Linked DNA regions of Homo sapiens: regions 1, 2, 3 and 5 are each linked to region 4. Evidence: promoter capture Hi-C in 16 types of primary human blood cells and fetal thymus (Javierre and others, 2016). All regions are on one chromosome and are shown on one strand. The core of a region is centred on a gene start or on the middle of the fragment in contact, and the rest is flanking DNA. Distances in the headings are between cores, read along the strand shown. Region 1 overlaps CAST (calpastatin). Region 2 overlaps CAST (calpastatin). Region 3 overlaps CAST (calpastatin). Region 4 holds the start of LNPEP (leucyl and cystinyl aminopeptidase). Region 5 overlaps ERAP1 (endoplasmic reticulum aminopeptidase 1).

Region 1 (2,700 bases), core at 22-2,521, 170 kb before region 4:
ACGGGAGCTTTCTTTGCTGTGATTATTAGATTGTTACTAACAGTGTTACATACACTGAAAGCATTTGAAGACATGATTTCAAAGATCTGTGTAATAAAATCACTCCAACAGGAAAACTGCTTCAAAGAAAATAGAAGATCATGGATGTGACTAAGCATGACAGGGAAAAGCTTTATCAGTCCCAAGACCTGGGTTCTATTCACTTTTTAACAATTTGTTTTCAAGCAACTGACTTAGCTTCCCTGAGCTTTTTACCTCAAAAAAAAAAAGCCTGCTTAGTTCACTGAGAACCATTGTGGGCATCAAATAAAACTGGATAGTGTATGTGAAAACATTTTGAAAATCAACTGGAAAGTTCTATACAGTATTGGACAGAGTTCAGCATGGTGTCTTATACAATGTAGATATTAAACACATTTTAATTGAATTCATTTAGAGGTGGAATTTTGAATGCAATGTGTTGAAAAATATGGATTTTGCTATAATAATACTAATAATAATTTACCATTTGTTGGGTCCTAACATACAACTAGTATTGTTTTAAATGCCTTTTCAATCATTTACTTTTCTCAGCAACTTAGGAGTATAAGTACTACTATTATTCACATTTCACGGCCAAGGAAACTGAAGCTGAAAGGGGTTAAATAAGCTGCCTGAATCATACAGTAAATAAATGTTAGAGGAAATAAGCTATCTTAGTTACAGTGATATTGTTGTCCATAATTTTTTTCCTCTAGAATACCAGCTCCCATTTCTGCAATTTCACTTCCATGAGCTTCCTGAAGATGAAAAGAGAGGTTTCCCCACCAGTTCAGAAATTCTCTGAAGTCTTTCAGGGCACTCATCACCAGTGTGGCAGACAAGCCCCTTCCACTCTCCTGACCCCAGATTGTCTCTGGGGTTTTGTGCTTTAGGAAGTATTAGGATGGCAGTGCCGAGCTCCATGGCTTCCCACAAACTGCGGGTCACGCTGCACTTTCTGAAATGCACCCCTCAAGATCTTAGAGTTTTAGAGAGGACCCACAGAACCAAAGAAACACTTACCCTCTATAGTTGCAGAATCTTGCTTCCTAACCATCTGACAACATTAGTAGATGTTTGTTTTCATATCCAGTTTTCTAATGGTGTTTAATTTCTAAATGAAAGGCACACATGATTGGTTCATTTGCTTTTGGACCCTTTATGTGACCTCCAGGTCACCCACTGGATATGGCTCCTGAGGCTGCCACTAAGACCTCCTTAACCTGGTGGGATCTTCACCAAGAGATGGGCAGGGTTGGGTGGAAGGTGCTGGCCCTCCAACCCCAGTAGGGTGACAGATACTGCCGCTCTTCTCCTGATCTTCCATTCCTAGGCTTCTCTTCTCTGACCCTGTCTACTCCCCTGCCCCAGCCCCAGATGTCTTTTTCTTCCAAGGAAACAGGTTCCCTCCTGAAAAGATGGAGTTCCTGGGCTAATTTGCCTCTGATACAGTTTGGCTAATGAGTGACTAATTCAGCATTATTTACTTTTCAGCAGAGTGACAAAGACCTCGATGATGCCTTGGATAAACTCTCTGACAGTCTAGGACAAAGGCAGCCTGACCCAGATGAGAACAAACCAATGGAAGATAAAGTAAAGGTAAAAAAAAAAAAAAAAAAAAAAAAAATTCACTAATAGTGAAATTTTAATCCTTGGGTCTTGACTCTGTCATTGTCATAGGAATATTGATGTGAACTTAACCTATATTTTAAACATGAAATTATAATGAAATAGAAAAATCAATCTGTACTCCACTGGAGGGGAAGGTCACTGAATCTGTGACAGAGATACCAGCGGAGCCTCCCTGAGGGGATTCTGGGAGGTAGGTGTGGGGTATGCATGGCTTCCTCCCATGCAACACAAGCAGTCAGCACATCCATTCAAATTAGCTGTTGTCCTTCAGGGTTGCTTATAAATAGGCAAAGTTGTAAATGTGACCTCTCTAAATGGCAAGGTACAGTGGCCTGATTTTGTATTAGAAAAGTGAAACCATACAGAAAAAAAGAAAAAGATATTTTATACCTTTGGGTTCTAATCTCCTAACATGGTTTCTGAAGATAATTATTTAATCATTTATTTCCATTTAAAATATAGCTAGAAAATTCACAGATATGAATTGACATACAGAAGCATACGGGATTTTATATTTTAGCCAACTAGCAGTCTGTTGAAGTCATCTGTGTTGTTCTGTTGCTTAAAAAATAAAAACAGACCATATGTTTTGCCTCATGAAAGTACAACAAATGCTGAATGCTGCATTTGACAATGTATTTTCTAAGTGAAAGAGGAAATGAATATTAATTCTATCTGCTCACTGTTGATATAGGAAAAAGCTAAAGCTGAACATAGAGACAAGCTTGGAGAAAGAGATGACACTATCCCACCTGAATACAGACATCTCCTGGATGATAATGGACAGGTAAACTGAGGCAAATTGCTAGATCGGATTTATGCTACCAAGATCTTTAAATTCAAACCTCCCTTGAAATAAATAGTAGCTATACTCCTTTACAATAGCATAAAACATACCATGACTGACTGCTTCTAATGTGTCACCAAAGCCGACCAGCAGGTAAATATTTATTTGAGCCAATATCATTATATATGCATATGCTAGGCTCTGTGGTATAAACAGGGTTGAATACTGTTCAGTCACTCACAGATGCTTAAGAGTGATCC
Region 2 (2,785 bases), core at 1-2,500, 190 kb before region 4:
TGTCTCAGTCATCATCTAAGACCATCTCACCATTATGATACACAGAAGGGCAGAAACCAGAGAAATTGCACTCTTGGAACATAAAACCTTCAAGTTTGATTGTATAAAGGACTTTGAGCCCTGAGGATCACTAGAGGGACACCAAGTAGCTGGTACTGCCCAGCATTCTCAACTATATTTCACTATGACATAATTCTCACAAATCGCAAAAGGCAATCCTGCAGCTCTGTGCTGGCTGGGAACACATGTCTCCTCTGCAAACAGTCAAGATAATGCTCAGGAACGGTTTCTATCAGAGCAGCTTGTGCCTCTCCCCTCCTGGAGTGGACAGTTTATTTTTATCTGGCAGGCTGGGGAACAGTGGTGAGTACCACACCCCTGAGAGTGGGAGTTCCTACAACGATCAGCCATTGTGCCTTCAGAGAAGAAGGCAGCAGGGGCCACTTCAAGCTTCCCTGCTTCCTAAGCTTAGGTTGTCAGAAGCCTTTTTAGAGATACATTTTTAGAAAAAGAAAAATAGTGTGGTAACAGTTTACTACTTGCTTCTTTTTTTTTTGTTTGTTTAGAGTATTTTATAGTAATATTACTATAGCTTTATGTCTAGCTTACCAAATAAGGGGTGAAGTGTGCCCCAGAGAACGCTGTTACTGTAGAAACGTGTCTTAGCCCCAATTTCCACTCATTGGTAAGTTCTTTTTCCTTTCTCTCTTTTGCAAGGTTTCAAATAAAATTGCCTTTCTAGAGCACTTCCCCAATCCATATTCAGTTTATAATCTAAAATGTATTTTACAAAGAAGTAAATGGATTGTTCGGGCTCCAGAGATGTCTTTTTTCATGCACAGGATTTTTTACTTTTAACAGGATACAATGAGTGATCAAGCACTCGAGGCTCTGTCGGCTTCACTGGGCACCCGGCAAGCAGAACCTGAGCTCGACCTCCGCTCAATTAAGGAAGTCGATGAGGTACTGACCTTAGAGTTGATTTACAAAGCTTGTTAGTCTGCACATTACAAAACCGAATGCACTCTGCATGTTTAGAATTCTCGCACAACTTTTATTGGAGAGTAAAAGTGAGCATTCTTCATTGTGCCTTATTTATTGCTGAGTGGTTAGCAACTAAGGGGGATAGTTACATGACTGACTTGTGAAACAGCTAGAATTTTAACATTTGAAATGAACACGAATCTCCCTTGCTAGAGCTTAAATGACCCTTGACTAAACAAGGTAACAAGGAGGCAATGCCTGGTGGGAAATAGTGAAGTTTGGCAATTGGAAATTTGTATTTTCAGAAGGGTTCTGGGTGCTTCTGTTTATAAGAGAAGGAGATGTCTATACACGGAGTGGGAAGATCCTTCATTTATCACTATGGGGAAAGATGTTGAAAATTTTGTCTCAAATTAAAATCAAGCAACAATTACCCTAACTAGAGCTCCTGCATATTTATAGAATAATGCTGATGAGTGTTTATCCCGCCACACTCCAAGATCTTAACAAGCCTTCTGAACCAAAACAAGCTTACATCTGGTGTACGAAAGTTTTAATATTAAATTATAATTTTTGTGGAATTTTTCAACTCAGTCCTCTGGGGTGAAAGAGGAAGGAAAGGAGAGAGTTGCCGGTTCCTGACAAGGCAGTGTTGTGGGGAGATGGAAAGGTAGCCTGGGATCCCCAGGAGCCCGCCCCACCTCCATCAGCTCAGGCTGGGGGTGCTGGCAGGCATTGCTGTCACAATGCCCCATCTCTGCTGTCACTTCCTGTTCTGAGTCATCAGGGAAGGGGAGTCTCCCTGACTTCCAGCAACAATCCTTGAGTCTGGGACTGCCCTGGCCTAAGATGGGCCAGTTTCTATCTTCGACTTTCTTGGAGGGCTCACCGGCCACAGTGTGGCACGATAAGCTTTGTGACGGTGAACGCAGAGGAGCAAGAGAAGCAGTTCGTATCTTCCAGGACCAAGTAATGTATTGGGAAGAAGGGAAACTTGATTACAACACAATGTGAGATATACATTACTTAGAGTAGCCGACAGAAGCAGTGTCATCTTGAGGAAAGCGGGGTGTTGGCAGAATCCTGGGGGGAGTCAGGAGGCCAAGCTGAGTTGTGGCTTTACCACCTGAGGGCGACAGGGCCACAAGTATATTGCACTTCTGCCCCAAGCTTCTTACAGACACTTAAGGAGAGACAATTAATGTGGGAAGGGAGGGTATAAACATGTCATAAACCTCAGGATCAAAGGAGTCTTAAAAGTGACTAAAAGCAGATAAGCAGATGTTAAGAAAAAAAGTGACATAAAATAAGTTATTTAAACATGTGGGTAACTAGTTTGGGAATGCATATGAATGTATTAAGTTCCCTCTAGAAAACTTCAGAGTCGCAGCAAACTAAAATTCCAGCAAAAAGAACTCCTCTTTTCCACTCTTATGACATAATAGTTGTATTAGTCTGTTCTCATGCTGCTAATAAAGACATACCAGAGACTGGGTAATGTATAAAGGAAAGAAGTTTAATTGACTCACAGTTCCTCATGGCTAGGGAGGCCTCATAATTACGGTGGAAAGTGAATGAGGAGCAAAGTCACGTCTTACATGGAGGAAAGTAAAAGAGCATGTGCAGGGGAACTCCCCTTTATAAAACCATCAGATCTAGTGAGAATTATTCACTATCATGAGAACAGTACAGGAGAGCTCCGCCCCCATGATTCAATTACCTCCCACTGGGTCCCTCCCACGACACGTGGGAATTATGGGAGCTACAATTCAAGATGAGATTTGGGTGGGGACACAGCCAA
Region 3 (2,700 bases), core at 120-2,619, 210 kb before region 4:
GTTACTCTAGCTCAAGCTGTATCTCTTGGGAATATTTCAGGGGAGGGAATTAAAGAGGGAGCATTTTCAAAATTCTCTCAACTAATGTTTGTGTGCCAATATTCTTTAATACCTTTAAGAGCTACCCCAACTCCATTATTATTAAATTGCCCTTGTTTAAAATTACCAACCTACTTTTGTTTTCTGTCTTTCATATTACTATGCTATCCCTGTAGTTTCCTATCCCAGGTGATGTGGCACTATAACTTAGTACTATCAAAGGATTATATGGCCTCATCTTGAATCATCTTCAAAGAACATTACAAATATCTAGAAATACACTATCCACATCTAAGTTCTTATGTCATTTAGCATTCATTTAAAATTTTAATCTAAAATTATCAGTTTTTAAATTTAGTATTTAAATTTACATTGATTTCTAAATTGCTTTCAAAATATACATTATATAATCTATAATTAATGTTAGCTGTCTCTATTTAATTATGTTAAGCTTAATCTTAAAAAATTAAAAATCTTTTTTTTTCCTTGAGGCAGGGTCTCGCTCTGTCTTCCAGGCTGGATGTAGTGGCATGATCACAGCTTGCTGCCACCTTGACCTCCTGGATGCAAGTGATCCTCCTACCTCAGTCTCCTGAGTAGCTGGAACTCTAGGGGCACACCACCATGCCTGGCTAATATTTCTGTTTTTCTGTAGAGACAGGGGTCTTGCTATGTTACTCAGGCTGGTCTCAAACTCCTGGGCTCAAGCAGTCCTCCCATCTCAGCCTCCCAAAGTGCTGGGATTACAGGCATGAGCCACTGTGTCCAGCCTAAAATTAAAAATCCTAATTTTAAAAAATATTCCAGAAGCATCTACAAAATAAAAGTTCTCATTAAGACCAGGCATAGTGGCCCACACCTATAATCCCAGCATTTTGAGAGGTCAAGGTGGGAGGATCGCTTGAGCCCAGGAGTTTGGGACCAGCCTGGGCAACATAGCGAGATCCCGTGTCTACAAAAAATTAGCCAGGTGTGGTGGTTTACTCCTGTAGTCTCAGCTACTCGGGAGGCTGAGGCAGGAGGATGGCTTGAGCCCAGGAGATCAAGGCTGCAGCAAGCTGTGATTGCACCACTGCACTCCAGCCCAGGTGACAGAGCAAGACCCTGTCTCAAAAATAAATAAATAAATAAATAAATAAATAATCTCATTGAATTTAGAGATCATGAAAACCAAAGAAAAGAGATAGGAAAGAGAGCCAGAAATATAGGATTTCCTTTTTATTCTTTTGGTTCTTTTTCATCCTGTTGCCTGATTCTAATCCCCTGTGCCTCAGCTCAAGGACCAATGTTTATTTCAAGCGTGGCCTGTTACCTAGAACAAATGTCAGCAAACTCTTCACCCTTCTCTAAGCATTAATCATGAGAATTCTCGGCAGTCCTGTGAAACTGGAGGAAAGTAGGAGAGAGAAGAGGGGGAGAGACAAAAATAAGATGCACGTAATGAAGTGTCCCCAGTGGCTAACTAGGGACCACTTTTGGCCTCAAGTCTCTTTCCCTGGAACCTGGTTCCATATCAGCTGTGATATTGGACAATCTCTTTTTGCTTTGGTTTCCTTATCTGTACAGTTTGGAGGAAGGTGATAATAGTACCTGCCTCACAAGACTGTGTAAGGAAACATAATGTATATTGGACAATTCCTGTCCTAAGCAAGTGTCCAGATGGGATTGTCTGTTGGCCACTACTGGGGAGAGAGTGCAGTGCGATGACTAGAACACACAACCTCAGGTCCACCATGGATGTCTTTAGGGAGTTATTTAACTGCTCTAAACTCAATTTCTCATCTGTGAAATGGGTATAATAATACTTGTCTCATAGGATTATTATGAAGATAAAGTGGGTTGACACATGAGAGGTGATTAATACACATTAGTTATTATGGTCATCATTATTATATTCAGCACAATCACTACAAAAATAAATTCAGCAATTACTGATTTAAATATAGATTGCATTATAAGCTGCTTGTGTCTGTGAGCATACATTCTTAATTGTAGTGTAGGTTCTCCCATGCAAAATCTTGATTGCCAAATTGCAAGCTATTAATAGATTCAAAGCACTATACTACCAGCTGGCTTATTTTCCTTGTTAATCATTTAATAAATTATATTTGCATAAACTGAAAGGATAGTTCCATAAATAGAAACTCATTAATGAGAATGTAGTGTGAAAGGATCCAAAATTTAAAATTTCTTTAAAAACATTTCAATCATAAGCTTTGTTTCCTTCCCAAAATAGTGTGTTAGCCTAGCAAGGGGCCATTATTTGAAGAAAGTATGTGTCTTCATTACTGAAGTAGAAGACATGATAAATTAAGAGGATAATTGACTTTAGCCTCTTCAAATAAAAATAAATAAATAAAAACCACTAGTTTGTGCTGATACTACCAAGCAGATAAAAAGGAAAGAAACAGCAGGAAGCATCGGACCCTAGTTTGTAATCTCTGACTGAAAAGTTCATGAAATGTTTAATCAAGTTTTATTCATGATTGTATATCTTGCCTATATTGAGAATGCATGCATGTACTTACTTGTTTTTGCACAAGTAATGTTTAGTTGGATAAAACTGTAAAATATCATACTAAAGATGCTAAGTTACAACCAGTTCTGTAGAAGCATTTCTAGAACTTTAAATTCGATCTCTGCATACAGGACTGTGATGTG
Region 4 (2,753 bases), core at 245-2,744:
AGTAGAGCGTGCGTTGTGAGGGATGTAATAACAACAGGCAGTTTAAAATACAATATTGTACTTCGATTTGACTTCTTCGAAACCTAGTTTCCAATTCCAGTGCTGGTCAAACAACACCCTGGCCGTCCCTGTTTGAGCAGGCTGTTTGCGCTTGCCGCGGCTTGTTTGTCCCTGGCGCCCCGCTGTTGAAAGCCTCAGAGCGTGTGACAGTTGGCAGGCGCAGTGAGGCGCAGCCCGAGCCAAGTCAATGCAGGGGCCGGGGCTGAGGGAGGGGAAGAGGCAGAGGAGGCGGTGATGGCGCGCTGGGAGGGCGGCGGCCTCTGCAGCGAGGGTGGTGGCGATGCGCATACCGAGAGGATAAGGAAGCGGTTCCCGACGAGCCTCCTCGGGGCTTATGGGGCCCCTGGCGGTTCGGCCTCGGAGGCTAGCGGGGCTGCCCGATTTGGCACTGGAAACAATGGTGGCTCGGGGCTGGAGGCAATGGCGCGAGTGCTGGGGGGCAGGGGCGACTAGGGGAGTTTCGGTTTCTCGGGCCTAGCGCCGCGGAGCCTTGCTGCGGGCCCCAGTGGTAGCACCCCCGGGAACCGCAGGTGTTGATTTAAGGCTCGGAACAGGCGGGCCTTCTGCCCACATCCTGCGGCGCCCGCGACCCGGGCCGGGCGATCCGGCGCCGGGTTTTGTTATCCGCCCGCACCTAGAGGCCGCAAGGCAGCCGCCAGCCCCGGGACTGGACCCCAGGGCGCCCTCGGCCCTGCGAGGTCCCCGCCCTCTCTTCCGTCTCCTCCTCACCGCCCTCCTGAGGCACTCTGATGCGGGCGGGCATCTCTGCCGAAAACACCTACAGCGCCCGCTCCCTCGGTCCTTCGAGCAGTGATCCCTCCGCGGCCAACCTCCCCAGGGAAACCAGCGATTCGCGGTTCAGATAGCGACCTTCGCCCGCAGGTTCCTGCTCTGCCTTCAGACTTCGGCTTCAGTGGCACCTGCTCAGCGAGGCCTCGTCTAACCAAGCCATCCGAATTAACTACCCACTCACTCGCCATCACATCACCCCGATTTAATTCGCAGCGGGGCACTGACTTTACACTCGTGTGTCTTCTGTGTTTATTTATGGTCTGTTTCTGGAATGTCCGCTCCTGGGACTGGGACCATGATTTTCTGGCGCAGTGCGGGTGTCTCGGCGTCCGGGATCGGGCGGGTCGCAGTAGGGCTCCACATTTGTTGAGTGACTGAACACCGTTCCCGGCCGGGGAGAGCGCCGCAGCCGGGTCCACTTCAGGTAGGGGCTGGGCTTTCCCGGCCCCGCCTAGGCCCCGCCCCCAGCGCGAACCCGCTCCCACCTCGCCTGTCCACGGAGCAGCAGGGGGTTTGACTGTGCTTTTCCCTCTTGCTTCCCTCGCTCTTTCTGCAGCTGCCACGAAAACCCGGAACGGCGGAGCGGCGCCGCCCCTCGCGGCACCTCCCTGGCAGCCCTTGGAGGCCGCGCTGGGCATGCTCAGTCAGCTGGGCCGCCTCAGCTCTCGGAGTAGGAAGCTCGGGCGCTCCGGCTGTAAGGAGCCGCGGCGGGGGGAAAATGGAGCCCTTCACCAATGGTGAGTGGGCTGCCGAGGCGCCGGGACCCGGGCTCTCCGGAGCCCTGAGGGTCGTGGGCAGTCGTGACACGCGGGGTCGGGCTGCAGCCGTCTCCCCCAACACCGCGGGCTTCCCACGAGGGCTGAGGGAGGCAGGGAGAGGGGATCTGGGGGAGGCAGGGAGGTTCGGGGGGCGGGCGGCGGCCAGTGCGGGACCCGGGGCTGGCTTGAAGGTCAGCGCCGCCGCCGCTCGCCCGGGGTGCGGCCGGTGGGCAAACAGCAAAGTTTGGGCTGCTGTGCGCAGAGGAGTGGGCAGTGGGAAAGTTGGCAGCTCAGGTTTGCCCCCGGAGGAGGCGGTGTCGGCCCGACTCTCCTGTAGGAGCGTTAAGTTGTGGCAGCTGCCGAGCCCAACTTTTGTGGGGCGCCAGGAGCTGTCCCCCTGCCCTTCAGTGAGCTGCCGGCGTGACTTTTCCTAATAGGGCGGGGTGGGGGTGGGAGGCTTGGCAGGTTAATGTTGTGGAAGGAAGGGAAACTTCAGGAAAGGCTTGCTCACCTCGCTCGGTGCCGCGGAGGTGCCTGGCCACAGTGCCACCCTCCTGACCCTGCCGAGGTACTCGGCAGGGCCACCACGCATCCCCTCACTGGCTGCAGATCACATCAGTTTTTCAGTCAAAGACTTGTTAATGTCAAGGGTCCGTCACGGTGGTGATACCACTGTGTGACAGGAAGCGAGAGTCAACGCAGGGAGCCTGCACCCTGCAAACAGCCACAGCCCTTCACTGAACGGGGAGCATAAATCCCACCCTAGTTAGAACCATGGCTTTTGTGCGGACCAGAAGTGCCAGAGCCACAATATAGGGGTGAGATGTCTTACCGTTTTGCGGTGTTGAGTGTGTGGATTCCCTTTTAAGATAGAAAGTAGGAAAACTGCCAGTAAGGGAGACGACTCACTAAAAGAGGATTCAGTCTCTGGTTGACATGTTTTGCTGAGTGTGGTTGGTTACTTCAGGTACAGTATCACATTAATAGGGGCCACAGTCTATATCCCTGTTTAGTTTGTTAGTTACCACTCAAGAGCAGACAGATATTGTCCACTTTATCCCAAATCCCAGCCAGACTTTGTTGTATGCTGTGCTTCATTCATGGGGCTGTGAACTACTGATTATATTCTCCCTATTCCTAATG
Region 5 (2,700 bases), core at 108-2,607, 150 kb before region 4:
CTTTAGCAACAGCTGGATGACCACTTCAGTCATTTATACCTCAGTGCCCACTTTTAACATCCTTAAACAAGGACTAATTGTCTCAAGTAATTTTCTTCAAGTCCTAAGGTTTTTACTGGCAGAGCTAAGACCTCTTAACGTGTCTGAGAAGAGGCACAGTTTTCACTAGTTTAATTGCAACTGATTTATGCTGCTGTCAACACCATAGCATCCAAAAATAACTTCTAAATGACAATCCATTTCTAACTCACCACACCCTCAAAGTATTTTGTCTACCCCATATTAATTAGCTAATTTTCATTTATGTTTAAAAATATATATATAGATTTTTTTTTTTTACCTCTTCAAGCCGTGTTCTTGTGGAGAATTGATTTGTTGTACCCATTACCATGTGGGCTATGGAAGATGAGCCAAGTTCAAACCTAGAGAGGGAAATATTCAAAAACGGGTTGTGAAATACTTATTCATTTAACATATATTTTAAGGGCCTCCTATATATAATAGCTTTCAGCTAAAAACTGATCGGTGTGAAAAATACAAAATATGATGTCTATCCAATGGGTTAAGATCTAGCTGTAAAGAATAATACACACCAACAGCCTAATAAAAGGTTAAGTATCCAACAGAAAATGACAGAAGCAGGAAATGCTATAAGAGTTAGACAAAGACAGATGTGAACAAGCAAATGTGTTCATGGAAGGCCTGGGCTGAACTGTGAGGAGGAAGGCTTCAGATATGTCCATGGGCTCAGGAAGGGGTTATGCCAGATGGAATGGAAAACATCCCTGTCCAGATTCACTAGTTAGCACTGAAGTCCAGTTTTATGTTTTCTACAAATATTTTAGGTATTTCTACTGCCTATCTTCAATCAAAAAGTACCTTTAGACTGTTACTGTTCTTTTACAAACAGCAAGGCTAAAACACAGTAAGGTTATGAACTTATCCAGTCACAGCACAATTTTTGGCACCACTTACTTTTGTACAAGTTTGTTCCAGTTTTTCCTCAGAAATTGCCAGGCCAGTGGGTATCCTACTGGGTTCCTGCCAATGAGTGTAAGAATTTGTGGAAACTCCTGAGTTTTTATTTTATCTCCCTTAAAGCTTTCATCTAGTAGCCTAGAAGGATTAAGAAAAGAAATGTTAGCAATGAATAGGTGATGAAACAGTTATGAATCACTGCAATAAAATTACTTGTAAAAGAAAAAAAAGTCTGCCAGTAACAAAGGTTAAAAAGATAAATGGGTAACCACAATCCTGATAAACCCACTATAGCTACATAATAAAAACTAACATTTATATAGTGTTCATAACACCCATTCTCATATACCCTCTCATTTGCTCAAAAGAATAGTTAAGGAAGAGTAGCTCTAGTAAATATTTTTAATATGTTGTCATTTTAAAGATGCACAAATGTATACACCTTTAAATATTTTTCCTAACACCTGGTTCTCCCTAATTATTTGCCTTTCTCATTAGATGTGTGCTGACTTGCAGTATGTTCCCAGCAGGATAGGCAATTCCTGGCCAAGAAAACAAAAATAGATGCCAGAATGATCTAATCTAATCTAATTTCCCTTGGCCACATGAACATGAATGAATGACGGACTCACCATTGAAGCTTTTCCTTATTTTGGGTTCTGCAGAGGGCAAATTCAATTTGGCTTTTCTCAGTACTGGACAAAGAAAACTGATATTTACTATAAAGAAAATCCCAGCCTTCTGTGCTCTGGGCCCCCACAGCAAACACTGCCAAGGTCACGTCGACAGGCAGGCTATAGAAAGGAACACACTCGGTGAGAATCTGAGGTGCAGTAAGTATGTTTAGAGGCATAATGGTGACTAACTATGAACTGCTGAACTTTCCCCATGATCAGAGAAGCATGCCTGGAAATATAAACAAAAACTACTGATTTCCTTCAGTTACAATTTTTTTTTTTTTTTTTTTTAGGACGGAGTCTTGCTCTGTCACCCAGGCTGGAGTGCCGTGGCTCGATATCGGTTCCTGCAAGCTCCGCCCTCCCGGGTTCACGCCATTCTCCTACCTCAGCCTCCCGAGTAGCTGGGACTACAGGCGCCCGCCACCATGCCCGGCTCATTTTTTGTATTTTAGTAGAGACGGGGTTTCACCGTCTTAGCCAGGATGGTCTTGATCCCCTGACCTCGTGATCCACCCACCTCAGCCTCCCAAAGTGCTGGGATTACAGGCGTGAGCCACCGCGCCTGGCCTAGTTACACTTTATAAAAAAAAGGCAAGAGAAAAATATCTAAAATTAGGTTTTAAGTAGCCTTCTCAAAAATGTGAAATGCCATTTTTATAAATACCTACATATTTAAATACTTTAATGATGCTGGGTGACTCCATAGGGGATCACCTTTCAAGCCAAAAGAAATTCAAACTATATTCAAAATTTACACCATGATCACAAGTCAGGACGGCAGTAGGACCACTGTTTGGATTTCTTTAAGCTGAAGCATGTAGGTTGTTGGCATAAATGTTTCCTGGGTGGGGTTTAAGCTCCAAATGTAAAAAGGACTGAAGTGTAGCAAGAATAGGGATTTCCAGATACGGTAAAATCCTACCTTGCTTAGACAGTGTCAGCAATTACTATGCATCCCTGTCAGGGAATTTGGAAGCCCAAAGAAACTACTATAAAATACAATGCATGTGTTTCTCTATGGCATGGCTGTCACCGTTTAATA

What was found. The method cuts DNA at HindIII sites, captures the fragments that hold promoters and counts their contacts. A CHiCAGO score of 5 or more calls a contact.
Region 1: a contact is called between a fragment that was not itself captured here and the fragment with the promoter of LNPEP in region 4, in 1 of 17 cell types (total CD8 T cells). The highest score is 5.4, in total CD8 T cells.
Region 2: a contact is called between a fragment that was not itself captured here and the fragment with the promoter of LNPEP in region 4, in 1 of 17 cell types (erythroblasts). The highest score is 6.7, in erythroblasts.
Region 3: a contact is called between a fragment that was not itself captured here and the fragment with the promoter of LNPEP in region 4, in 1 of 17 cell types (naive CD8 T cells). The highest score is 5.4, in naive CD8 T cells.
Region 5: a fragment that was not itself captured here is called in contact with the fragment with the promoter of LNPEP in region 4 in 5 of 17 cell types (naive CD8 T cells, M0 macrophages, naive B cells and 2 more); the score reaches 5.9 in naive CD8 T cells.

What each region holds. Positions count from the first base shown.
Region 1 is chr5:96,763,706-96,766,405 of GRCh38, forward strand. It overlaps CAST (calpastatin), which reads left to right. Exons shown (of 32, transcript NM_001750.7): 26 at 1,516-1,620; 27 at 2,348-2,440. It also overlaps a transcript of ERAP1 not described here. Among named protein-coding and RNA genes, the nearest start is that of ERAP1, 43 kb to the right of the region's middle. The HindIII fragment of the contact is 2,207 bases long and covers 169-2,375 here.
Region 2 is chr5:96,741,794-96,744,578 of GRCh38, forward strand. It overlaps CAST (calpastatin), which reads left to right. Exons shown (of 32, transcript NM_001750.7): 16 at 862-963. Among named protein-coding and RNA genes, the nearest start is that of ERAP1, 65 kb to the right of the region's middle. The HindIII fragment of the contact is 523 bases long and covers 990-1,512 here.
Region 3 is chr5:96,723,673-96,726,372 of GRCh38, forward strand. The region is part of intron 4 of CAST (calpastatin); the gene reads left to right. Among named protein-coding and RNA genes, the nearest start is that of CAST, 63 kb to the left of the region's middle. The HindIII fragment of the contact is 1,763 bases long and covers 489-2,251 here.
Region 4 is chr5:96,934,586-96,937,338 of GRCh38, forward strand. It overlaps LNPEP (leucyl and cystinyl aminopeptidase), which reads left to right and starts at 1,495. Exons shown (of 18, transcript NM_005575.3): 1 at 1,495-1,589. The coding sequence starts at 1,571. It overlaps LOC124901030, which reads right to left and starts at 1,490. Exons shown (of 1, transcript XM_047417984.1): 1 at 1-1,490. The coding sequence starts at 1,490. The coding sequence ends at 786. It also overlaps a transcript of ERAP1 not described here. RefSeq lists enhancers at 1-98, 409-548, 849-1,158 and silencers at 179-298, 739-808, 1,749-1,818, 1,949-2,028. The HindIII fragment of the contact is 7,112 bases long and covers 1-2,753 here.
Region 5 is chr5:96,780,083-96,782,782 of GRCh38, forward strand. It overlaps ERAP1 (endoplasmic reticulum aminopeptidase 1), which reads right to left. Exons shown (of 19, transcript NM_001040458.3): 16 at 1,611-1,772; 17 at 976-1,116; 18 at 341-422. Among named protein-coding and RNA genes, the nearest start is that of ERAP1, 27 kb to the right of the region's middle. RefSeq lists an enhancer at 290-1,489. The HindIII fragment of the contact is 517 bases long and covers 1,100-1,616 here.